Regions from separate parts of the Homo sapiens genome. Here regions 2, 3, 4, 5, 6 and 7 are each linked to region 1. Evidence: promoter capture Hi-C in human tissues and cell types (Jung and others, 2019). All regions are on one chromosome and are shown on one strand. The core of a region is centred on a gene start or on the middle of the fragment in contact, and the rest is flanking DNA. Distances in the headings are between cores, read along the strand shown. Region 1 holds the start of FAT1 (FAT atypical cadherin 1). Region 2 overlaps LOC339975 (a long non-coding RNA gene). Region 3 has its middle 76 kb from the start of LINC02374. Region 4 overlaps LOC339975 (a long non-coding RNA gene). Region 5 overlaps LINC02492 (long intergenic non-protein coding RNA 2492). Region 6 holds the start of LINC02514 (long intergenic non-protein coding RNA 2514). Region 7 overlaps LOC339975 (a long non-coding RNA gene).

The links. The method cuts DNA at HindIII sites, captures the fragments that hold promoters and counts their contacts. A contact is called where the count stands out against the background at its distance.
Region 2: a contact is called between a fragment that was not itself captured here and the fragment with the promoter of FAT1 in region 1, in 1 of the 25 tissues and cell types used here (dorsolateral prefrontal cortex).
Region 3: a contact is called between a fragment that was not itself captured here and the fragment with the promoter of FAT1 in region 1, in 1 of the 25 tissues and cell types used here (lymphoblastoid cells).
Region 4: a contact is called between a fragment that was not itself captured here and the fragment with the promoter of FAT1 in region 1, in 1 of the 25 tissues and cell types used here (dorsolateral prefrontal cortex).
Region 5: a fragment that was not itself captured here is called in contact with the fragment with the promoter of FAT1 in region 1 in 1 of the 25 tissues and cell types used here (IMR-90 fibroblasts).
Region 6: a fragment that was not itself captured here is called in contact with the fragment with the promoter of FAT1 in region 1 in 1 of the 25 tissues and cell types used here (lymphoblastoid cells).
Region 7: a fragment that was not itself captured here is called in contact with the fragment with the promoter of FAT1 in region 1 in 1 of the 25 tissues and cell types used here (lymphoblastoid cells).

The regions. Positions count from the first base shown.
Region 1 is chr4:186,721,565-186,725,539 of GRCh38, forward strand. FAT1 (FAT atypical cadherin 1) reads right to left here and starts at 2,292. Exons shown (of 27, transcript NM_005245.4): 1 at 2,100-2,292. RefSeq lists enhancers at 1,733-2,234, 2,735-3,734. The HindIII fragment of the contact is 8,530 bases long and covers 1-3,975 here.
Region 2 is chr4:187,405,784-187,409,452 of GRCh38, forward strand. The region is part of intron 1 of LOC339975 (a long non-coding RNA gene); the gene reads right to left. LINC02515 (long intergenic non-protein coding RNA 2515) reads left to right here and starts at 3,067. Exons shown (of 3, transcript NR_183821.1): 1 at 3,067-3,116. The HindIII fragment of the contact is 3,307 bases long and covers 1-3,256 here.
Region 3 is chr4:187,276,105-187,279,716 of GRCh38, forward strand. No RefSeq gene overlaps it. Among named protein-coding and RNA genes, the nearest start is that of LINC02374, 76 kb to the left of the region's middle. The HindIII fragment of the contact is 8,426 bases long and covers 1-3,612 here.
Region 4 is chr4:187,468,954-187,472,438 of GRCh38, forward strand. All of the region lies in intron 1 of LOC339975 (a long non-coding RNA gene), which reads right to left. Among named protein-coding and RNA genes, the nearest start is that of LINC02515, 62 kb to the left of the region's middle. The HindIII fragment of the contact is 4,826 bases long and covers 1-3,485 here.
Region 5 is chr4:187,545,111-187,548,715 of GRCh38, forward strand. The region is part of intron 2 of LINC02492 (long intergenic non-protein coding RNA 2492); the gene reads right to left. Among named protein-coding and RNA genes, the nearest start is that of LINC02492, 130 kb to the right of the region's middle. The HindIII fragment of the contact is 4,057 bases long and covers 1-3,605 here.
Region 6 is chr4:187,369,369-187,373,016 of GRCh38, forward strand. LINC02514 (long intergenic non-protein coding RNA 2514) reads left to right here and starts at 1,280. Exons shown (of 3, transcript NR_149103.1): 1 at 1,280-1,407; 2 at 1,927-2,058; 3 at 2,316-2,553. The region is part of intron 1 of LOC339975 (a long non-coding RNA gene); the gene reads right to left. The HindIII fragment of the contact is 4,395 bases long and covers 1-3,648 here.
Region 7 is chr4:187,340,006-187,343,650 of GRCh38, forward strand. All of the region lies in intron 1 of LOC339975 (a long non-coding RNA gene), which reads right to left. Among named protein-coding and RNA genes, the nearest start is that of LINC02514, 29 kb to the right of the region's middle. The HindIII fragment of the contact is 3,694 bases long and covers 67-3,645 here.

The sequences.
Region 1 (3,975 bases), core at 1,042-3,541:
GGTCCTTTAGGCTACAAATTATGCCACTGAGACAGAATCTAATGCAATAATAATGTACTAATTTGATTTGGCTGATTGATTCTACGTAAAATCAGCCAAACTTGGGTGGAAAGCAAGCGGGTAAAGTGTTAAAACATAATCTCTAAGATCCTATCCACCTCTAACATTCAAAGAAACGACTGCTTCAAAGGGACCTCAAAGCAAAGTCTAAAGGCAATGGAAAGGTAGAGGATGATCAGGGGAATGAAAACAGAATTAGTTTGTGCATAATTTTTAAAGATTTTTCTTCTCTTCTTTTTCTTTTCTTTTTTTTCCCCAGGCTGAATTGCAATGGCACGATCTCGGCTTACCACAACCTCCGCCTCCCGGGTTGAAGCGATTCTCCTGCCTCAGCCTCCCAAGTAGCTGGGATTACAGGCATGCACCACCACACTCCGCTAATTTTGTATTTTTAGTAGAGACGGGGTTTCTCCATGTTGGTCAGGTTGGTCTCGGACCCCCGACCTCCGGTGATCCGCCCGCCTCGACCTCCCATAGGGCTGGGTTTACAGGCGTGAGGCACTACGCCCGGCCATAATTTTTAAACATTTTTCTGTTGGCACCTGTCCGGACCATGGATTTAAATGATCTACTAACATGATGAGAACCCAACGGGGATACTTCAAAAGAGACAAATGAATATACAGGTGGCCCGAAATGATTTTATAAAGTCCTCTAACAACCACACTTCTTTCCAGAGTGCCAAAGAATTTGGCTCATTTAAGGTGTTCATTTTTCAAAAAATGGTTATACAAATGCAAACTTCATTCAAATCAAACCTTACCTTGAGCTTGTTAAATGCCATGTTTAGCATCACTCAAGGCTTATACCAATTGTTGTTTTAAAAAATTACATAGTGCTTTAAGTATTTTTACATCTTAAATACAAAGGAATAATTCTAACTGTGGAATCAGAGCTGTCTTCCTAAGACAAAAAGACAAAGACAAATATCACAATTAACTATTAACTGGAGAAACACCTTTTCAAACGTCCCTGTAACAACTGGATGTGTTGGACAGCATAACCAAACTCATTAAGAATAGTGTGAAAAACATCACCATTACCTAGTTCTCACACACAGATACCTTCTTAAACTATCGAAACCTGTATCTGAATATACGAAGCATTAAGAATCTGCTTTTGAAAAGGAAATGAATATCTGAAGGTCATTTTCTTTTCAATCTTTTCTCATACTAATAATCACTGTTAATATCCACTTTTAAAAAATCGCCTCTATCAGGCACCCGGGAATTGCTTAACAAAAGCCACTTAATGAAACCACAGTTCAGACAAAAAAAAAAACTTAACTGCATAGAAAATATTTATGAGTTTACTTTCCTAACTCATACAATTGCGTCCTTGTTTCCAAAGCCTTGCAATTCACATCAGCGGGAACAAAAAAATCTAACACACAGCAGAAAGCTGGCTCTCTAAAAGAAAGCATTTTTTTTTAAAGGCAATGAAGGACCAAAAACTCTTTCTTTTAAAAAGATCTTAGAAGTTCCTCCTCCAGAGAAGACAGAAAACACTGACAAACCGCACATTGTGCAGATGTTCAGCCCCGAAATGCAGCCTCGCAGCCCTTCACTCCGCAGTCCACCGGTTGCATCTGCACCTCCGGGCAGCGCTCCTGCAGGGCGCAAACACCCAGAGACCCAGGGACCCGGCAGCCCCGCGCAGGCCTCCCGCGTGCACCGCTCAGCGAGCGGGTCTTTCGCAGACGGCGGGATGCCCCAGGAGACCGCGAGGCCGGCGCAGCCCGGCGAGCTCCCGGAGGGAAGGCGGCGTGTCAGAAAGGATCGGACCCCAGCAATGGCCCCGGATCGGTCCCGCGCGGTCGCCTCCTTTTCCCGCTCCGCCGCCGGGACCCCCCTAGCCAGTGCTGAATTTCCCAACTGGGAAGGACCGAGTCACTCCACCCTCCGGGAAGTCGCGCGCTCATCCGTTTTCGGCAGCGCCGGAGCCCGAGCCGGGGACCGGGCGGACACCCACAGAGTCCGCACCGCAGCGCGCTGCACGCTCTCGCCCCCGCCCGCCGGCCCGCGCCCCAGCGAACTAACCGCAAAGTTGGCCCGAAGTGGCGACGGCGCTCTCGTGGAGCTCACCCGCCGTCTCAGCGCGCCCCCGAGCAGGGACCGGGCCTGCCGGGGCCCTCGCCGGGCTCGCGCGTCCGCATGGTACCTGCCGCACGAGCCGCTCCCGCGCCCTCTCCCCGCGCCCGGCCGCCCAGCTCGGCGCCGGCGCCTCACGCTCCCCGAGCGCAGGAGATCCCTCCGCCCCGGCCCCGCCCGCCGGCGCCGGCGCTCATTTCTCGGGCGCGGAAACTCGAGCCCACTTTCCCCGGCTGCCGGCTCTGGGACCGCGGGCTCGGCCACGCAGTCCCGCCCGGACCCAAAGAGCCCCAGTCCCTGCGAACACCAGGTCCGTGCTGGGAGACGAGAAGGCGCCCAGCGGGGTCTAGCGCGGCTCCGAGGGGCAGGGCGAGGCTTGTGATGCCGAGGTTAGTTACGGCCAGCCACAGGCGCTGTGCAAGGAATTGGGGAAAGCTCCCTGCCAAGAAAGGGAAACGTTAGCTTAGCTAAAAAAAAAAAAAAAAAAAAAAGGCTGGGGCCTAATGAGAAAGCTTCCCAGAGGCATCCCTTTAGCTTTTCCATAGCCTTCTGGGAGCCCCTGAATCTGCATTTGAATGGCGCGGCTCTGGGTCCGCGAAGGTTTGGTGGGCTGAAGTCGTCCTTCAGGTCTCCAAAGGAATGCAGCTAGGTCGGAATCTACTTCCTCCTTCAATCCCCAGAAAATGGAAACGCTTCCCCCGCGACCTTTTTCTGCCGAGTTAGACCCCAGGCCCTCCCCGCCGCGGGCGCCTGGCCTCCCCCGCTGACACCCCGGACGCCCAGGCCTGTGGGACAAAAGGCAGTCGCGGCGTCCCGCGGGCTTCCTAGCCCGGGAGTCGGCCCCAGGGGCCCCAAAGCGTGACCCCAGGCCGACAACTGCAAGTTCCTAGGCAGAGGGGAAGCCCCAGCGCCGAGAAGCCCGCTCCGAGAACTCCCCGCGCCGGGCGCCCAGCCTGAGCGTCCCGGGCGCGGAGCCCATCCCCGGTGCGGGCAGGGCTCCAGCCGCAGGCTCGGCGCAGGGCGGACTCGGCCGAAGCCCGGAGGGCCGGAGGCGCTGGGACGCAGCCCGGACAAGAGGGCGGACTTGATCTCGGAAAGTTTGTGGGACTCAGGCATTTTAACACTGGGAAGACAAAGAGATCCGATTTCCCTGGGACTGGTGAGGGGAGCTTGGCGGGGAGGGGAACGGCAGGGCAGTCAAGTGTGAAAGAGAATTTCCTGGGTTCAAAGTTAACGCAGTCACCTTATAAGCCATCTTAGAGGTGACCGGAAAAAATAATAATAATAAAGGTGTCTAGCAGGTTGTGGCTGGGAAGGAAAAATAATGCCTGCAAGATGAGTGTGCCGATTCGTAGCCCTATATTCCCTGCCCACCAGTTGGAATACACATAGATTCACACATCCAGCAAATGCAAACTCCATCATCCAAAGACGTGTTTGTCCCGGCCATAATTGCTCCAAGTGCTTACAGGTCAATTTCATACATGGAACACCTCGAAAGTGGGTGACCTGATCTCCAAGCCCAACCGGCTTGTGCCGCTTGCCGAATTGTAAATCTCAGCAAAACCCAAACACACCGGAACTCCAGCCGTTTCCTGGGAGCGAGGAAGCGGGAGTAATGCTAAAAGGGGAAAAGAAGAACAGTAAAAAAAGTACAAAGATACCATTCCCTGACGTAAAATCACGGGATTTTTTTTAAATGGCACAAGAGAATTCCTGGAGAAGATTACCATTAATTAATAAGTAATAACGCTTCCTAGGGCTTACTAGATGTTTTACATCTGTCTGGGAATCCCGATTTTCCAGGCTCCCTGAGAAATCTATC
Region 2 (3,669 bases), core at 353-2,852, 680 kb after region 1:
TGTTTGTTGTGATTTACGATTGTTTGCATTTGCTTAGGAGTGTTTTACTTCCAATCGTGTGGCCAATTTTAGAATAAGTGTGATGTGTAGCTGAGAAGAATGTATATTCTGTTGATTTGGGGTGGACAGTTCTGTAGATGTCTATTAGTTCCGCTTGGTCCAGAGGTGAGTTCAAGTCCTGAGTATCCTTGTTAATTTTCTGTCTCATTTATCTGTCTAACATTGACAGTGGGGTGTTGAAAATCTCCCACTATTATTGTGTGGGAGTCTAAGTCTCTTCGTAGGTCTCTAAGAACTTGCTTTATGAATCTGGGTGCTCCTGTATTGGGTGCATATATATTTAGGATAATTAGCCCTTCTTGTTGCATTGATCCCTTTACCATTATGTAATGCCCTTCCTTGTCTTTTTTGATCTTTGTTGGTTTAAAGTCTGTTTTATCAGAGACTAGGATTGCAACTCCTCCTCTTTTTTTGCTTTCCATTTGCTTGGTAAATATTTCTCCATCCCTTTATTTTGAGCTTATGTTTGTCCTTGCATGTGAGATGGGTCTCCTGAATACAGCACACCAATGGGTCTACACCAATGGGTCTTGACTCTTTATCCAATTTGCCAGCCTGTGTCTTTTAGTTGGGGCATTTAGCCCATTTATATTTAAGGTTAATATTGTTATGTGTGAATTTGATCCTGTCATTATGATGCTAGCTGGTTATTTTGCCCATTAGTTTGTGGAGTTTCTTCATAGTGTCAATGGTCTATACAATTTGGTATGTTTTTGCCATGGCTGGTACTGGTTTTTCCTTTCCATATTTAGTGCTTCTTTCAGGAGCTCTTGTAAGGCAGGCCTGGTGGTGACAAAATATTTCAGCATTTGCTGTCTGTAAAGGATTCCATTTCTCCTTCACGTATGAAGCTTAGTTTGGTTGGATATGAAATTCTGGGTTGAAAATTCTTTTCTTTAATAATGTTGAATATTGGCCCCCACTCTCTTCTGGCTTGTAGGGTTTCTGCAGTGAGCTCTGCTGTAAGTCTGATGGGCTTCCCTTTGTGGGTAACCCGACCTTTCTCTCTGGCTGCCCTTAACATTTTTTCCTTCATTTCAACCTTGGTGAATCTGACAATTATGTGTCTTGGGGTTGCTCTTCTCAAGGAGTATCTTTGTGGTGTTCTCTGTATGTCCTGAATTTGAATGTTGGCCTGCCTTGCTAGGTTGGGGATGTTCTCCTGGATAATACCCTGAAGAGTATTTTCCAACTTGGTTCCATTCTCCCCATCACTTTCAGGTACAAACATAGGTTTGGTCTTTTCACATAGTCCCATATTTCTCGGAGGCTTTGTTCATTTCTTGTCATTCTTTTTTCTCTAATGTTGCCTTCACACATTATTTCATTAAGTTGATCTTCAATCTCTGATATCCTTTCTTCTGCTTGATCAATTCAGCTATTGATACTTGTGTATGCTTCACAAAGCTCTTGTGCTGTGTTTCTCAGCTCCATCAGGTCATTTATGTTCTTCTCTAAACTGGTTTTTCTAGTTAGCAATTTGTCTAAACTTTTTCCATGTTCTTAGCTTCCTTGCCTTGGGTTAGAACACGCTCCTTTAGCTCAGAGGAGTTTGTTATCATGCATCTTCTGAAGCCTACATCTGTCAATTTGTCAAAGTCATTCTCCATTCAGTTTTGTGGCCTTGCTGGCGAGGAGCTATGATCTTTTGGAGGAGAAGAGGTGTTCTGGTTTTTGGAATTTTCAGCCTTTTTGCTCTGGTTTTTCCTTATCTTCACGGATTTATCTGCCTTTGGTCTTTGATGTTGGTGACATACAGTTGGGGTTTCTGTGTGGACGCCCTTTTCGTTGATGTTGATGCTATTCCTTTCTGTTTGTTAGTTTTCCTTCTAACAGTCAGGCCATCTGCTGCAGGTCAGCTGGAATGTGCTGGAGGTCCACTCCAGACCCTGTTTGCCTGGGTGTCACCACTGGCGGCTGCAGAATAGCAAAGATCGCTGCCTGTTCCTTCCTCTGGAAGCTTCGTCCCAGAGGGGCACCTGCCAGATGCCAGCTGGAGCTCTACTATATAAGGTGTCTGTCGATCCCTGCTGGGGGGTGTCTCCCAGTTAGGAGGCACGGGGGTCAGGGACCCACTTGAGGAGGCAGTGAGTCCCTTAGCAGAGCTCAAGAGCTGTGCTGGGAGATCCACTGCTCTCTTCAGAGGCAGCAGGCAGGAACATTTAAGTTTGGTGAAGCTGCGCCCACAGCCGTCCCTTCCCCCAGGTGCTGTATCTCAGGGAGATGGGAGTTTTATCTATAAGCCCCTGAATCGTGCTGCTGCTTTTCTTTCAGAGATGCCCCGCCCAGAGAGAAGGAATCTAGAGAGGCAGTCTGGCTACAGCAGCTTTGCTGAGCTGCGGTGGGCTCTGCCCAGTCTGAACTTCCTGGTGGCTTTGATTTCACTGTGAAGGGAAAACCAACTACTCAAGCCTCAGTAATGGTGGACACCCCGCCCCCCACCAAGCTCGAGCGTCCCAGATCGACTTCAGACTGCTGTGTTGGCAGCGAGAATTTCAAGCCAGTGGATTTTGGCTTGCTGGCCTCCATGGGGGTGGGATCCGCTGAGCTAGACCACTTGGCTCCCTGGCTTCAGCTACCTTTTTAGGGGAGCGAACGGTTCTGTCTCACTGGTGTTCCAGGTGCCACTGGGGTATGAAGAAAAACTCCTGCAGCCAGCTGGGTGTCTGCCCAAACGGCTGCCCAGTTTTGTGCTTGAAACCCAGGGCCCTGGTGGTGTAGGCACCCCAGGGAATATCCTGGTCTGCCGGTTGCAAAGACCGTGGGAAAAGCGTAGTATCTGGGCCGAATGCACCGTCCCTCAGGGCACAGTCCCTCATGGCTTCCCTTGGCTGGCGGAGGGACTTCTCTGACCCCTTGCGCTTCCTGGATGAGGCAACACCCCACCCTGCTTTGGCTTGCCCTCCATGTGCTGCACGCACTGTCTAACCAGTCTCAGTGAGATGAGCCAGGTACCTCAGTTGGAAATGCAGAAATCACCCACCTTCTGCATTGATCTCGCTGGGAACTGCAGACTGAAGCGGTTCCTATTTGGCCACCTTGCCAGCCCATCTCGAGTAAGTTTTCTTATCTTTGCATGTATATCCGATAAGCTAGATTTAGTGGTCAATAGCGATTTTTGGAATGAATGAATAAATAATAAGGATTGCTCTTTTTTTTACTGCACTATAAATGTGTAGAAGTCATGTAATTTAAAATTTATTTGTGTTAAAATGTTGGGTAAAATATTTTTACTCTACTTTAAATATCTAAGTTATTAAATATAACTGGCTGCATTTATTTTATTAAAACTTACAAAATAATTTTTATAACTATACAAATTATAGGATCATCTACATATTGTGCCTATTAAAATTTTACTTAAATATGATTTTAGTTTTTTATAGACAGAAGTATAAAGAATGCTTCAAAATCTTAATCATTTAGAACTAAAATTATGTCTGGTGTCTTGAAATCCAGATTTACGTATGTGTTAAAGATACTGGTTATTTCCTCAAGTCAAATCATGGAATTGAGAGGTAGAGTTGAATACAGTTTTAATAAATATGCATTGGTTCCTATGTGGCTATTCTTGCTGTAGTAGTACACTAACACTCTACAAAAATCTGT
Region 3 (3,612 bases), core at 1,045-3,544, 550 kb after region 1:
GGCCTTGAAATGGAGTTCAAATAACTTAAGGAACAGAGGTATCATGGTATTAAGCACCTGTAGGAAAGCAACATATGGCAAAATGGTGCATAGGTTGGTGATAAGTATTGTAGGAGTCATATATCTCAAGAGAGGATGGCCTGATTTGATGACTTTCACATCATTCTCTGGGTTCATCATAAATATACAAGCCATGTTTGTTTATGAGAAAGTTTGTTTGTTATGCAGATTGGCACTAGTTTTATATTTTAAAAAGTTCTCTACAATTATTCCAATCAAGTTTAAACTTTCAGAGAGACCATTGTTAAGGCTAGATTTATTCCTTCTCTTCCTTTTTTTGTTGGGACATAGCTCAACTTAGTTCTCTTTCAGAACACAAATTTATAATAATCAAATTTTAAAAGGTTTTAATGTTTTTATTATATAATTCATGATGAATAATGATTAAATTTATGGCAAGAGAAATTGGAAATTGATCATGCATATGCTGACATTTTTAGTCAATTGAATCATATACGTTAGGCTGGGTCTGTCCACTATATATCATAAAATACTCACACATTTATGACGGGCAAGGCTTTCAAAATTTACCATATCCCAGAAAACCAAGCCAAAATTGAGCATATGTTTTTCTTTTAATTATCACTTAATAATAATTCTGGGCCTTATTTTTAAAGAGCATTGGCAGGATAACTTGGCGTAGGAATCGACATGCTTTGTTGACTGGCAAGTTCTTGCTAGCGTCTTTCCTGCATTGCTGTGTTTCCTTAAACAAATCTATCAGTATTTGCAGAATTAGATCAATTGGAGCTGGAAACATCTTCCTGGATGATGGAGCCTTTCCTCTGACTCACAACCAGTTGCTGTGTGCAGCTTCTCCTGTACACTTTGGCCTAGTTTTACCACAGTAAGAAAAACGTATGTGACTCCACTTTCAGTTTCCAACGCTCATGTCTGCCCAGGATTCCCTAATTAACAGTTGACTATTTTTAACTTTTTGCGTTTTGTGTCTTACCATGTAGTTTTCAAAATTGGTTCTGGTAAAGTCACATCTGGTACCTTTAGTTGCCTTTTGGTTTCTAGACTCACTTTCTCCACTGTGAAATCTGCATGTGCTGGTACTGCTGGCAGCTCCTCCAACAGACCTGCTGAAATAGCTGCAGAATCCTTTAGGACAGGAAAGGAAGTTGCCCGAATTATTTTCTAGAGCAAAGTAAGTTAGAAAATGTGTAAACAGGTAAAGCTTTGTCACCTATAAGGTGAACCAAAGTTGTGGGGTTCATCTCTCCTCTGCTGTCCTTCCCTTCCTCACCCAGCCTCCTTCTCCTCATATTAATGTCACATTGAAATCTGTGCTACTTGCAGGAACTTGAACTTCTGTCTCAAGCATCTTTGGACACATTCTTTTCTTTCTTCCTGAAGTGGTCTTCCCTCTATAGCCTTCAAATTCATGTGTTAATTTACCCTTAAATTTATTTTCCTTCTCTCCTTTTTTAGCCATATTTCTTTTATTTATGTTTCTTGCTGTGTATATGCATAGATACACACATATATGCTGTATGTGTATATATAATATAAGCTACTTCATTTCCTCTTTACAAGGCAAATATGCAATATGAAAAGATACCACACAGGATATTAAGCATTGGTGAACTGCTGCCCTGAAGTTATTTATACTCCATTTGGAGAAAGTCTTAAAAAATTATCTACTAAAAATTCTGCAGTACAGATTTAGAAGTGAAGTATATTCAGGCCCAGAGGTAACAAAAAAGTGAGAATAATCATTTCTGCACATGGACAGGGAGAAATGTGTTGCTAGAACACTACAAAAGTGATGCTATTTGCATCTTGAATCTTCAAGAATAAGAAAGAACATCAGAGAAAAATGGGACCTTGTTATTTAGCTTGGTTCTGTATTCAAGTGCAATGACATTGAGCCTTTCTTTCCTTCATTTTTTCCTGCTGCAGAATGCTAGTTATGTCTTATCCCCTAGATCTACATAGGTGAATCTGATCAGATTATAATAATTGCCACAAAAATATCATGTGGATATATGCTCTGGGGTTGTACAATACTCTTGCTGAAACAATACAGATAAAAACTGGTTAAAATAAATTATGAGGGTTATTTGATGAAGAATAGGTATTATATAACGGGTCTTTATGAAAAAAACTGCTCTTATAGTTTCTCCTTTGTGACAATATATGCAGATTTGAGGATGATATTTTTAATGTGTAATGATCAGTCCTTTGTCATACCAGTTAGTGGCCCTACCTCCTTCTTTGTAATCAGCTACTATTCTAAAAGACTGCATGTCAGTAAATAATCTGTTAATGCAATAGCCTCAACTTCTCAAATTCTAAATATGATTTGGTAATCACATATCACATAAAGATTTTATGAGAGAATTGGAAAAGAAAAATCCGTCATGGATAATCGGTGTGGTCTTTTGGCTAACACTTTATACTGTGCTTGCGGCTTGTACTTTTTCATATTTTGAATTCATTAATTGTGCATTTCTTTTTCCCCTGTTAGATTATAAGCACCCCGTGGGCAGGGACTGCTAGGTTCTTGATATCTACACAAGGCTCAGTAAGCATTGAGCTGAATGGAGAGGCTGGCCCAGCTAGAAAGCATACAGATTATGCTGATGGTGCCAGCTGGATGGAATTGAACTGAGGAAATTAGCATTGATTCTAGAATTAGAACCACCTCCTCTCAGTCTGCCATGTAGCCAAATCTTAAACCAAGGGTTATTTTGATTTTTTAAAAAATCGCATTACTTAAGTTTACTAGGTAGAAGATTTTCTGAATTGGAACCATGTTTTTCATATTTTTCCTGTGCAAATAATTCTCAGTTGATAATGTAATTAGACATAACCCAGCTAATTTCTTTGGTATTCCTAACATTTAATTAGCATGTTGTTCTTATTCATTAATACTGTGGTGATATTTTCAGTGCTATTCTTGAGCATTCAAGGTGGTATCAAAGAAATGATTTTTCATGACATGACCACCATGCTATTTGGAAGAAGGAATGTTTGTGCTTGAATACACCATGCCTGCGAGAGTAGACTGCCTCTGTGTCCAGCCATCCCCACAGGGGAGACGCCTCGCAGTGGCGAGAATCCTGATACAGACCTACAGGGAATGACTGGCATTGGCTGCTTTCGATTCTGCTGTGATTGCTGATGTCCCCTGCGGTTCAAAGGATAATTCAGTTTCACCAAGTGTTCTCTTGTTTTGGACTCCATGGTGGAGCCACCAATTTTGCTATCTCATAGGAAATTATTTTTGTGAGGCCTCTTTTATTGGTTATCCAGCCTCTCTCTGAAGCCCGTTCACCCTCAGAGCATCTGGAAGGAGACAGGACAAATACAGTTTGAGAAAAAAGAGGATATGATATAGGGAGAATTCCTTCTACACTGGAAAGAAAAAAAAATGGAAAATCTGCCCCTTACACTCTGGTGGTGATGAGGAAGAGAAACAAGAAAGGAAAAGAAAATTGGAAAAAGAAAAGTGGACAGACATGTTTATGTCTCAGTCCACTCTTCTGGGATGAAACGGAGGGAGTGTGGGAAGATGTTAGATCCTTTGAAGGGAAGGCTGAA
Region 4 (3,485 bases), core at 37-2,536, 750 kb after region 1:
TTAACCTCTTTAAATTTTCTTTTTTATCTTTATAAATAAGAATGTCAATGAATTCCTTATACAGATATAATGATAAAATGAGATAATATATTTAAAGGGTATAGAAAGGTGCCTAGCATATTTAAACCATCTAAAAATAGTTTTGCTTTTATGTATTGAAAAGTTCGGTTGCACCAAAGTCACTGCAAAAGTGACTAGTCAAAGGCAAGTAACACAAAACTTAAGAACAATTGGATTACATGAGTAAGAGATTTGTAGTTCTCCCCCTACAAATATGGAGTTGGCTCAGGACAGAGCTCTTCAAGAATGTTTTCAAGGACCTAGGCTCCTCATCTCTCCAGTCCTAACCCTTGGTCGTGACTTTCATCCTCATGATTCCAAGACAGCTGCTGCACATCCAATGCCATGTCTGCATTCCAACCACAAAGAAGGAAAAAGGATAAAAAGCCAAATATCTTCTTCACATAGGAGGTTTTTTCTTTTTAATTTGGAAAAATAACCACTTTCTAGCTAACTTTTAATTATATTCTATTAGTGAGAAGAAATATACCAAATTGCCATTTAACACAAAGAGGGGTAGGAGGTTTTAGGTCTTAACTGGAAACATAGCTATTCCTTTCTCTGTATCTGTTATCTGTCTCTGTCTCTACCTCTCTCTTTCTGTGTGTGTGCATGTGTGTGTGTTGTGTAAAGAGAGACACACACAGAGAGAGAGAGAGAAAGAAAGAGAGAGAGAACAAAAGAAGAAAGGAGAAGGTATATTGGATAGCTAACCAGCAATGTTAGCCACGGTTATATTTAGACAATTCGTTTTGCAGCTTATAAGAGGGCATGCTTGAATATAAACTCATATGACAAGCATAGTTAAAATACTTTCATTCAATTTTGCATTCCATGAAGCTTCACTATATACTCTAGTCCAGTTTAGCAAGGAGTGTTAGACTGGGGCTAGAATCTGGACAGCCTGTGTCTGTCTCTAGTTTACTGCTTAGCTTTGTGCAAATTACCTAATTATTCTGCATATAATTTTCCTCTCCCATTAAATGTGGAGGTCAGATGAGAGGCTACCAATTTCAGATCTTAAATTTGGTGGTTTCATGATTGTTATATTTCTCCCTATTCTTTTAAAAAACAGTTTCATATTTTCAAAAACTTAATAATTTTCTGGAACTATTGAACTTTGGTTAAGACAGTCTTGCAGAGGTTATGTATTGTTCTCAGCACTGTGCCAGGCTGCATGTGAGACACAAAACCAGTTAAAGACATGCCCGCCGCTCTCCGTGTATGACACTAAGCACCTTCAGTGTGGCCATGACTCACTGTTGGTGCCAAGGTTCCAAGAAGAGATAAGTCAGAATGACATGAGGAATTTAAAGATGGCTTCACAGATGAATGGAACTGGAACTCAATGCCATCTCACTAACATTTGAAAATTAAATACAAGGTAGAATGAAAAGATATGGTTAGGTGGATAAAATATGAAGGAACATCTCAAACAAAGGGAGATGCACCAACAGAAACACAGATGAGAACGCAGGTGCTATGATGTGGATGTTTGTCTCTCCAACCCCTGCATTGAAATCTCACCCCAGTGTTGGAGGTGGGGCCTGATGAGAGGAGTCCGGGTCATGAGGGCAGATCCCGCATGAATAGATTAATGGCCCCCATTGGGGGTGAGTTCTCACCTCAGAGTTCCCACAAGAACTGGTTGTTCAAAAGAGGCTGGCACCTGTGTCCACCCACCTGCCATGTCCTCTCGCCATGTGATCTCTACGTACCAGCTCCCCCTCACCTTCTCCTGGCACCATGGTGGACGTTCCCTGAGGCCTCACCAGAAGCCAGGCATTGTCAGCACTGTGCTTCTTGTCCAGCCTGCAGAACCATAGGCCAAATAAACCCTTCTTTATAAATTACCCACCTCAGGGATTCCCTTAGAATACCAAATTAGACTCAGACAGTAAGCTTGACAAGTTGGGGCCGAGGAAGGAGCCTCTCCCAGTTAGGTGAGAAAGCATATGCTAGTGACTGATAAAAATAAGGTTGCCCGAAGACTTCGTAAACCTGTTTCCTGCAATTCTTACTCTAACACAAATACACAGCTAGGACCAGGAGGCTGCTTCACCATAAGTGTCTCTACCACTTGCACACACAGTGCACACAAGTTGAATCAGAGCAACTTGCTGTACTGGACCCAGGTTCCTGTGAGCAGAAAGTACAATACACTCCTCAGTATCCATGCCATGTATCCGACTCAGTGTCACTCAGTGTTGCTAATACTGTATCCGGACTTAGCCAACTCCTGGATCCAGAGCTGGCCAAAATAAGCAAAACAAACAAACAAAAACCTACCTGAATGCCTTTGTTGCACCTTCAGTTGTGAACTAATCAGTCATAAATCCCAACCCAACTCTTTCTATCTCTTGCCTATAACTGTTCCTGTCACTTATGCATTGGTATCACAAATGGGAGAGACCTGGTGTTAATTCATTGAGTAATGAGAAGCCACTATGGATACTTGAAGCAGAAAGGAACTGTTTTACGAAGTTCTGTTCCTCGGCAGCATTTGAAATAAAAAATAATGTAGTCATCTCACTAGGCAGATGAGATAAAGGATTGCTGTGTCTATTATCTTGGAGAAAGACCATAAAGACCTAGATTGAGGTGGTAGACTTTCAAGTGAGGGTGAAAATAAATGGGATTTGAGCTACAGATTGGAAACACAGAATGGATTGGAACAGAGAGTGTGCAACTGTCTTTATTTCAGATTTCTATTTGCCCAGTGTTTGTCCATTTTTCACCTGGGGAACAGGACCCAGAGGTGCCAGAAGTGACATTCAAGCTGAGGGAGGGCACCAAGTCTATATGACTGGGAGGAAGTCAAAGGTAACTCTTTGTCGTGGCAGCTCATCTGACATAAATGCAAGTATCAAGTGGGGCTTTTGGCTAGTGCTGAGATTTAGCTTTTTCAACTGCCTAAAATTTAGATCATGGCAAAAACATTTTAGTAGGGATATATTTTAGGTAGTTATGCTTAAAAATAAGAAAATGGGGACATGGGAGAGGTTGGTCAAAGGATACATCATTACGGTTAGGAAGAATGAACTCAAAAGACCTAGTGTATAGCAAGGTTATGATAATTAATGACAATTTATTGTATTCTTGAAAAATGCAAAGAGAGTAGGGTTAAATGCTCTCGCCACAAAATAACTATGTGAGATAACGCAGTTGTTAATTAGCTAGATTTAACCGTTCAAAATATATGGTAAACAATAAATAGCTACAATGTTATCTGTCAAATTAAAAAAATTTAAAAGTAAAATAAATAAGGAAACAGGCAAACAAAACTTTTAAAAGTCTGCATTTTAATATTCTAGCAGTGTTTTAATCTATTTTATCTTATCTATAGATTTTGTTTCTCTCTATATAAAGACTATAAAGATATCCGAAAAATAATCTCTCTGATATCTTTATAGTCTCCTCAATTT
Region 5 (3,605 bases), core at 489-2,988, 820 kb after region 1:
CATCTAATTCAGTTCATCCATCCATGACTTTAGAATTGTTCAAAAATTGCCCAGCTTCCTAATACCAACAAATATTGATACTTCCCTGTTTTATTTTAGATCACATGGTATCTTTTCCCTAAATGTATTAGGTATATTTGTTAAATAGCAGACTACCAATCTGGGGAGCAACTGAAATCAGAAACATAGTGAAAGTACCCAAGATGTATATATGGGAATAATAATATTGGTGATTACTACAAGGAATTCTTGTGAGAATTGAATGGAAAATTATATACATATATATATTTATATATGTAATTTTTAACTTAATCTTGGCCCACATCACATAGAAATAGTAGTAGCAGATATTGTCTTCATCATCATCAAGATAATAAAACCATTTCAGCCCCTTTGGAAAATAATTTGGCATTTCCGCAAAATGTTGTGCATAAACCTACCATATCACCAAGCAATTCCACTCCTAAGTATCTGTCCAAGAGAAAAGAAACATCTATCTACATAAAGACTTGCACATCATTGTTTATAACAGCATTATTCATAAAAGCCAGGACCTGAAAACAACTTGACCACCCCTCAGTTGGCGAATGGATAAAAATATGGTCTATTCATATGATGAAATAGCATTGGATAATAAAAAGGAATGAACTGCTGGCACATGCTACATCATGGATGAACCTCAAAAACATTGCCCTAAGTGAAAGAAGCCAGTCACAAAAGACCACAGACTGTGGATTCCATTTTTAATGATCAATACTAGATTAGTAGTTGCCTGGGGATTAAAGTGTGAAAAAGAATTAACTGTAAATAGGCAGTAGGGATTTTAGATGGGGCATGAAAAAATGCTCCGAGATCGATTTATGGTGATATTCCTATCATGCCACAGAGTTACAAAACAGTCATTGAATTGTATACCTGCAATGGCTGAACTCTTATGATATGCAAAACAGACCTCAATAAAGTTCTTACAAGGAAGATAACAGAACCAAGTTCTAAGTACACCAATTATCCAGTTGCCTCCTTTGTATCTTTCATATATTTAGAGAATCTATGTCCACTAAAATCGCATTTATCCAGTTAAAGATGAGATTAAGAAATTGTGTTTTCCTGTTGATAGCCTGAACCTTAACAGTATAGGTAATATAGGACTTAACGTGATTTTTAGATTCGGAATGATATATTCATTTGTGAACCGTTTTCTGGATCACATAAAACTTTATTCCAAACATAAACTGTAGCACAAATGACACAGTCCTTCTTCACACAGATACACACACACACACACACACACACACAGCCATCAGTACGAGCAGAATGGGGCATAACCTTTCATTCCTCACATAACATCTCCACATGATCCTCCTGCCCCATTAAGAAGACGGCCCAAACCAAGTACCTCAAATCCAGTGTCCCAAGAACTGTTTTTAGTGTTTGAGGTTGTGTACCTGTCTTTACTTGTTCCCAAATTATTCTAATTCTAATCCTTTCAGGTCTCATTTTGATCTTCCCAGCTCTGATCTCCCAACTCTGTGACCCCAAGCTTGATCACTAACTATAGATTTATGGCTTTGAATTGATCTCTCTCTCTCTCTCTCTGCACAGTTTGTCTCCTGTGTGTCTGTCTCTGGGAGAAACCCTCTGCTCTAGCCATGTGAAAACAAATTCTGAACCAGGCCTTCTGACTCTGTCCTCATCCCTCCCTCACCATCTCCTAAACCCTTCGAAGAGGAAGCCATCTTTTTCTTTTCCACATACAGAGCCTTTTATCTGTACATCTATTATGAAATTTAATACTTTCTACTATATATTAAATATAGTTATTTATGTAGTTGTTGTAACCTCAATTGTTTCATCTTTACTTAATATCTTTCAAAGCATGGAATACAGAGCTTTGCTCTCAAGAAAGTATATTTTCCGAAGTGTCCCGATAGATTGAAATATCTGTTAAGTTTAAGTGAAAGGGTTGGTTCTGCTACAGTTTATTTCAGTTATCAGTATAGCACGCACTGATGCCTGAGTTACTGCTGGAAAATACTACCTTCCTGTCTTCTTAAGGCATTGCAAAAGGTATGGGGAAAGATCCTGAATTTGCCCCAATTTTTAAACAAACCAGAGAAACAGTAAAGCATTTAAATGACTTATTAATGTTAACCTATTTATATCTACATATTTGTTAGCCTGTGAGTAAATGGAACTTCGGATCTTTGCAAAAGAACTGCCGGGTTGTAAAAAGGATTGGAAAGTCAGGCTCACTTAGTAGTGTGCAGAGAAACAGACTCTATGCCTGGAGCAAAAAATCCCAGCATCCCCTCCACCTCTACGGTGTGATTTCTTAATGCTGTACTTGGCTCGACAAAGGAAGTCTGATATTTCAGAGGTGAGTTGCAAAGTGGCCAAACCACTCTTTAATGCACTATAGCTTGACATAATATTTGCTGCCAGCTTCTCGTTTAAAAATGCCATCAGTTTAACATTAACTGAAAAAGTAATTATTCTCCAGTTTCACGGAGCTATTAAGAAAAAAAAAGTTCATTGAAACTCCAGGAAATGAAATACTGTGCTTTCAGGACCTATTGGAAGCCTTTCAACATTCAGAGCAGAAAAACATAAATTTATTTTTTAAGAAGCAGATTTAGGAACTTTAGTGAATGGGAACAGAAAGCATTAACTTAAGCCTCAGGGGAGATAACGATTCAACAAAATTCTGAAAACCCTCCTTAGATCAAACTCTCACATATTCTGAAAACTCAGTACCATTTATTGTTACAAGATCCTTGATGATTTAGAAACATGTACCCACACATGTTAAGTCCTCTGTACTAAATCAAAGAAACTTCAAATTAGCTTGAACTTTGAAATGCTGTAAGTTACATGAATGATGATTCATTTCTTTATATTCAGTCACCAAATGTTATTGAGCCGATGATAAGCTTGAAGACGTTAAAGGCTTTGGGGTACAGAAGAGAGATACTAAAGTAACAGCCTGCACATGAGATCTTGACCTGTAATGAAGTGCCAATTTAGTTGTAAAGACAGAACATGTCATCTATAACATCTGAGGAAAATCTTGCTGTGTATGCGGCATAACCTCAGTTTATAAAAATTTGAGAGGAAATCACAAGAATGGAGAGGTTTTGCAAGGTTATGGAGTTTGTACACCATTTTTTTAGAACATGAGGTCTAAAATCAGATGCAAATGTGGGCTCCACATCCTATTTTTTAGGTAACTTTGAACAAGTCACCTCTTTGAACCTCAGTGAAATGCAGCTGAAAGTTCTTTGAAAACTGTAAAGATTATTTATTATTCAGAGATGATTTCTGTGGGTATAAGCAGAAAACACTACTTTTTGAATGAATTACAAACATAAAACCATGACTTTAATGCTAACATTTTTTGAAATTTTTATAAAACTTTCTAATTCACGTTCCCCTACTGTTCCAAAGTCAGTAATTTTAAGATACATGATTTAAAAAGGAAAAAAAAAAACCTAACTGTCAAGAAATATCGCTAACTAGATTGATCATGTTATTTCCTTATTTTTATAATTGAAAAAACCCAAAACTTTAATACTAATTTCTGGTTGCTTAAAAACAAATTAAATATA
Region 6 (3,648 bases), core at 681-3,180, 650 kb after region 1:
TGGCCTGTCCGAAGCACAGAAATACGGAAGACCTTGATAGATTCTAGACAGTGTAATAAGAGCAAACTGTTGGCAAGAGGACTGCGAGATAAGACTGCCGGGCTGACGGAATCCATATACAGAGACTGGTGATGGAGGTCCCTGGAAGGCCAATTTTCTGTATAAGCAATGGGGAAGTGTATCAGTCAGATTTTTTTTTTTTTCAGAGTCTTGCTCATCACCCAGGCTGCAGTGCAATAGTAGCATCTCAGCTCACTGCAATCTATGCCTCCCAGGATTAAGTGATTCTCCTGCCTCAGCCTCCCGAGTAGCTGGGACTACAGGTGCGCGCCACCACGCCCAGCTAATTTTTGTAGTTTTAGTAGAGATGGGGTTTCACCATGTTGGCCAGGATGGTCTCGATCTCCTGACCTTGTGATCCGCCCGCCTTGGCCTCCCAAAGTGCTGGGATTACAGGCGTGAGCCACCGCACCTGGCCCAGTCAGGGTTTTCTACAAGAATCACAAACAATTCCAGTCATTTTAAGTGGAAAGACATGTAACACACAAAGTAAAATATTTTCAGGATCTGTAGAAGGTCTAAGGAGTAGGTCTGAGATTAGCCTCTTGGAATCGCATTACACTTCAAACAACACAGACTGGAGTAATAGAGCTATTCTCTCTGAGGCCACCACACTGGAACTATGCTGGAAATAAGGGGTTAAAACTGGCATCTCTGCCACCACCACCTGTCAATATTCAGGAGCCTATGTAACAGACGCTGGCTGGCTGCTGGAGGAACATCATATTTCCATGGACTTTCTTATAAACGGCACCCTCCAAAACTTTCACAGAGACGGACTCTGCTCACTCCTGCATTCCAAATATCTCATGAGTTCATCAATACAGAATTCTAGCATCAAAAGAATCTAGGAAGTGTAACTGAACTTTCCAATCTTCCCAAAGAGAGAAAAGATGCAAGGGAGACTGAGTGAACCAACATAAATAATACAGCAGAAATACCATTAACAATGCTATGCAAAAAAATTGTATATTTGAAATCTTCTAATATTTCTTATCTGTCAATATAGAAATATGGATGTCATAGAAAAGGCATAAATTAGAATAGAAGTTTTGCATATATATTTCTAACCTGAGTGCTTATTTATAATATGGAAATCGGTTTCTAGGACAAGGAAGAAAAGAGAAATCGCTCTTTTATTTAATCAGGAAAGTTTATGAAAGGCAGGAGATTCTGAGACCTCTCCATAAAGGAAAAGGAAGCTTCTTTGCAAACAAAGAATAATGATTCACTTCAGCTCTAGAGAAATGTATGAAGGAAGGGAGGAAAAGAGTTGAAATTCAGAATAAGAGTGTGATTCCATTACCTGAAGAGGCAAAAGAGCAGGAGGAAATTGGACAATCTAGGGTGGGTGAACTCCACAGTATGCAGAAGCTGGTGTTCTTGCCTGTGAGGGTGAGGTTATTTAAAGTAGTTCATCAGGGGAAGACACAGGGTATCTCCCAGGTCCACGGGAACTGGGGTGTGGAAATAGTGTCAACACTGTTCATTGAAATAATGTGTCAGCTGGAGGGGAATGGTCAGCCTGGAAAAGCAGAAGTAAAGTTGGTGGGAGTTCAGCACCATCTGAGCAGAAGTGAACCCAGAGGCCTCCCTAAAGCAGAATTCTTTCAGTACAGCAGGATTGTTGCAGTGAGCTTACCCAACACCACCTTGATGACATTCACACTCATCACTTTTCCCCTCTTGCTATAAAAAGCTAATACACAGTCAGTGACACAGTGTTTGACCTTTCAGTTACCTGAACATCAGGAAGCACATGTTGTGGGTGGGGTGAGAAGGAGACAAGCCCTATTGTGCATATGCATGTCTATATTATCTTCTATACATACCTTTTCATGATGTCAAAAGATCTTTCATCTACAGCTACATAATGTTGAAGTGTACAGAAAAGGAAGCTGAGATTGAAATACTGGAGTGTGATGAATGAAACCCAGAGACCAATGTCCCAAACATAGCCCAGTCTGCATCTCCCACATGAAGGAACCCAAGGAATGGGTAGGAATATTGTGATACTCCTTAAATCATAGTTAGGTAAATTATTCCAACACCTGCTACCTAAGTAGCATTTACCCATGCCTTTCATAGGAAAGAGAGTCTGCCAACTATCTATTGGAATAGAAAGTGAGGCAGGTGGAAGAATCTTATTTGTCAGTGTTAGATTCCTTTGCAATGACAAAAACACATCTATACAGGAAGAAAGCTATTTTATCCCAAATACTGAATGCAACTTTGTTTTCCTTTTGTCTTATTAGTCACGTTTCCATATATCCCCACTTAAGTGACATGAGATGGATGGGTTTCCACAAGGATCAGCTGGAGGAGTTTCACATCCATCTGGCAAAGCTGCATGAAGATAAGCCTCGTGTTTTCCAGGGAACTGCATTGCTCTACAGAGGCAATGCCGAATTATTCAATTGCTTTATGAATATTTCCTCCCATTAACCTCTCTCTGAAAATTTGCTGATACGCATTAAGTGTCTCTTAACCAAAATGCTTGGAACCGGGAGTGTTTTGAATTTTTTCAGATTTTGGAATATTTGCATAGACATAATGAGAACTCTTAGGGATGGGACCCAAGTCTAAACGCAAAATTCATTACTGTTTCATATGTATCCTATACATATAGCCTCAAAGTAATTTTATAAAATATTTTAAATAATATTGTGCATAAAACAAAGTTTTGACTGTATGTTGACTGTGATCCGTCATGTGAAATCAGGTGTGGAATTGTCCACTTGTGTTATCATGTTGGTGCTCAAAAATTTCATATCTTGGAGCACTTCACATTTCAGATTTTTGGATTAGGAATGCTAAACCTATATTGCCCTGTGTCATGGGTCCCTAACACAATCCATTTACTCTTTACTTATTTATTTATTTATTTTAAAAATGTTTACTGAATTCACACTATGAGCAAGACATTGTTTGGTACAAAAGACCAAATTTGGTAAAACAAACAAACAAAAAACATGCTCTTATGGCTAAGAAAAATAAGCGAGGAATAAAATGGATCTTAAGATGAGGAGGATGATGAATGACAAATGTCACAATTAATATATAGAAGGTACTGTCACTTCACCTAGGGAAACTGAGAAAGCTTCCTTAGCTTTGGAGCCATGAAGGATGGCTAACATTTACACAGGCATAGGTATGAGTCTCAGTAGAGAGCCAAGAAGAGCAGGAGCCTGTTGTGAAAAGCAGTGAATTACTTATTTGGCTAGTGGGTAGGAGGCAGGAAAAGTAAACCTGAAGCCTTTGGGGATGTTTGCAGGTAGCTGTATCTATTGCTGTTTGGTGCCCAGAGTATATGACTGTGTGGCGTCATTTAATAATGCTTTAGTGGAACATTTCAAAGTAGCCCCGCATAAAATCGTTCAGCGTAAGCCAGATAATCCTACCTAGTTTGAGAGGCATTTCCAAACTAGACTCCTGGGCCAATTTGCCATATTGCTACATTGTGCTGGGGCTAGGATCTGGGCCAATATGAATCTAGCTTTCTTTAAACCAGTTATTATATCTTTGCATAGTATGTGTTGCATCCTGGGCTGAAACTGAGCCTTGGAGGGAGCCTAAAAGAGAGTGAAG
Region 7 (3,645 bases), core at 664-3,163, 620 kb after region 1:
ACCAGGAGTCATTTCCATCTCAGGAAACCACTTTCTTGGCTTGCGCATAACAAACAACTTCAAGTTTTATCATCACATTGTAGCAATTCAGTCACATCGACTTCTAATTCTAGTTCCCTTGCTATTCCCACCACATCTGCAGATACTTTCTCCACTTTAGTCTTGAACTTCAATATCATCCATGAGTTTAGGAATCAACTTCTTCCAAACTGCTATTAATGTTGATAAATTGACCTCCTCCCATGAATCATGAATGCTCTTAGTGGCATTTAGAATGGTGAATCCTTTCCAGAAGGTTTTCAATTTACTTTTCCCAGATCCATCAGCGGAATCACTATCTATGGCAGCTATAGCCTTATGAAATGTAGTTCTCAAATAATAAGACTTGAAAGTCAAATTACTCCTTGATCCATGGGCTACAGAATGGATATTGTATTAGCAGGCAAGAAAACACATTAATCTCCTTGTACATCGCTATCAGAACTCTCAGATCATTAAAGTGCCCAGATGGCCCAAAGCAATATATAAATCCAATTCAATTCGTATCAAATTACCAATGTCATTTTTCACAGAATTTAGAAACAGATCCTAAAGTTCATATGGAACAAAAAAGAGTCATAATAACCAAAACAGTCCTAAACAAAAAGAACAAATCTAGTGGCATCACACTGTCTGACATCAAATTATAATACTAGCCTATAGTAACTAAAACAGCATGATTTTTGCATAAAATAGATACATAGAGCAATGGAATGGAATAGAAAATGCAGAAATAAAGCCACATACCTACAATTAAGTGGTCTTTGACAGAGTTGAAAAAATAAACAATAAAAAAAGACAGTAAATGGTACTGGGAAAATTGGCTAACCACATGCAGATAAATAAAACTGGACCACTATCTCTCACCATATACAATAATTAACTCAAGATAAATTAAAGACATAAATGTAAAACTTAAAACTATAAAATTCCTAGAAGAAAACCTAGGAAAAACTCCTCTAGATGTGGGTCTAAACAAAAAATTTATGACAAAGACACCAAAGCAAATATAACAAAAATAAAAAAGATAGATCAGAATTAATTAAACTAAAAAGCTTCTGTACAGCAACAAAATAATCAACAGAGTAAACTAATATACAGTATAGGAGAAAATAATTGCAAATTATGTCTTCAACAAAAGACTAACATCCAGAATCTACAGGAAACTCAAACAACTCAACCAGAAAAAACAATCCCATTAAAAGGTGGGCAAAGGACATAAACAGACATTTCTCAAAAGAAGATATACAAGCAGCTAACAAACACATGAAAAAATGCTCAACATCACTAATCATCAGGGAAATGCAAATTAAAACCACACTGAGGTATCACTTTACACCAGTCAGAATGGCTACTATTAACCAGATGCAGACAAAGGGAAAACTTGTACACTCTTAGTGAGAATGTAGATTGGTTCAATCTCCGTGGAAAACACCATGGAAATATCTCAAGGAACTAAAAATAGAGCTTCCATTCAACCCAGCAGTCCCACCAGTGGGTATCTACCCAAATGAAAAAAAAATATTTATATAAAAAGACAGCTATACTTGTTTGTTTATTGAAGCACTATTCACAATAGCCAAGTCACAGAACCAACCTAAGTGTCCCATCAACAGATGACTAGATAAGTTTTATATATATATATACACACACACACACACACACACACACACACACACCATGGAATACTACATAGCAGTAAAAAATGAAATATGTCTTTTGCAGCAACAAGGATGGAGCCCTTCTGAGAACTGACTGAGAAGCAAAAAATCAAATATTGCATGTTCTTACTTATAAGTGGGAGCTAAACAATGGGTACACATGGATATAGCAATGGAAATAACAGACAGTCGGAACTCCAAAAGGAGGGATGGAATAGAGGGGTAGAGGGGTGAGGTTTGAAAGATTACCTATTGAATACAATGTTCAGTATTTGAGTGACAGTTACACCAGATGCCCAATCCCCAGCATTACACAATATACCTATATAATGAATATGTACATGTATTCATTAAATCTAAAATTAAAAAGATAAATAAAATATACTGGAAAAAAGAACTCAAGTTACTAGGTGCTTTGTCTGTGAGCAGAAATATTTTGAAAGAAATTTTTTTTCCTGAGCAGTAGGTCTCAACAGTGGGCTGAAAATATTCAGTAAACCAGGCTGTAAAGAGATGTGCTGTCATCCAGACTATGCTGTTCCATTTATAAAGCACAGGAAGAGTAGCTGTAGCATGATTCTAAAGGGCCCTAGGATTTTCAGAATGGTAAGTGAACACTGGCTTCCACTACATTTGCCCCTACCAAGAGAGTTAGCCTGTTCCTTGAAGCTTTGAAGCCAGGCATTCGTTTCTCCTCTTCACTAAGAAAGTCCTAGATGGCATCTTCTTTCAATAGGAGGTTGTTTTGTCTACACTGTGAATTTGTTGTTTAGTGTGGCCACCTTCATCAATGATCATTACAAGATCTTCTGGATAACTTGCTACAGCTTCTCCACTAGCACTTGCTGCTTTACCTTGCACTGTTATGTTATGGAGATGGCTTATTTCCTTATCTCATGAACTGACCTCTGCTAGCTTCAGACTTTTCTTCTGCAGCTTCCTCACCTCTCTCAGCCTTCATAGAATCGAAGACAGTTAGGACTTTACTATGGATTAGGCTTTGGATTAAAGGAATGTTGTGCCTGGTTTGATCTTCTGTCCGGACCACTAAAACTTCTAACATTAATGAAGCTGTGTCTCTTTCTCATCATTTCTGTGTTCCTTGGAGTTGAACTTTTCCCTCAGGAACTTTTCCTTTGCATTCACAACTTCACTAACTGCTTGGTGCAAGAGGGCCAGTTTTCATCCTATTTTGGCTTTTGACGTGCCCTCCTCATTAAGCTTAATCATGTCTAGCTTTTGATTTAAAATGAGAGACATGCAACTCTTCTTCTCACGTGAACACTTAGAGGCCATTGTGGGGTTATCAATTGGCCTGATTTCAATATTGTTCTGTTTCAGGGAATAGGGAGGCCTGAAGAGAGGAAGAGAGAGAGAGAGAGATGGGGGAACAGACTGTCATCAGAGCAGTCAGAACACACACACATCATTTATTGACCATTTGCTGTCTTATATGGATGCAGTTTGTGGTGACCCAAAACAGTTACAATAGTAACACCAAAGATCACTGATCAAAGATCCCCATAACAGATGATAATTTAAAAGTTTGAAATGCTATGAGAATTATTAAAGTAGGACACAGAGACATGAAGTGGGCACAAAATGTTGGAAAAATGTAACCAAATGAGTTGCTTGATGCAGGGTTGCCACAAACCTTCAATTTGTAAAAAATGCAGTGTCTGTGAAGCTCAATAAAGCAAAGCACAATAAAATGAGGTGTGCCTGAATATATCATATATAGTAACAAGAATACAAATACCAGATAAATGCATGTATACAGATGCAAAATTTTCATATATTACATGCTACAGCACAATATTAACTGCATAAACTATAATAATTTAAGGGTGCATATGGTAATCTCTGGAATAATTTCCAAAAATATATAATAACAATGCAAAGAATTGTAGCTAAAAGACCACAAAACAAAAACAAGAAACATGTG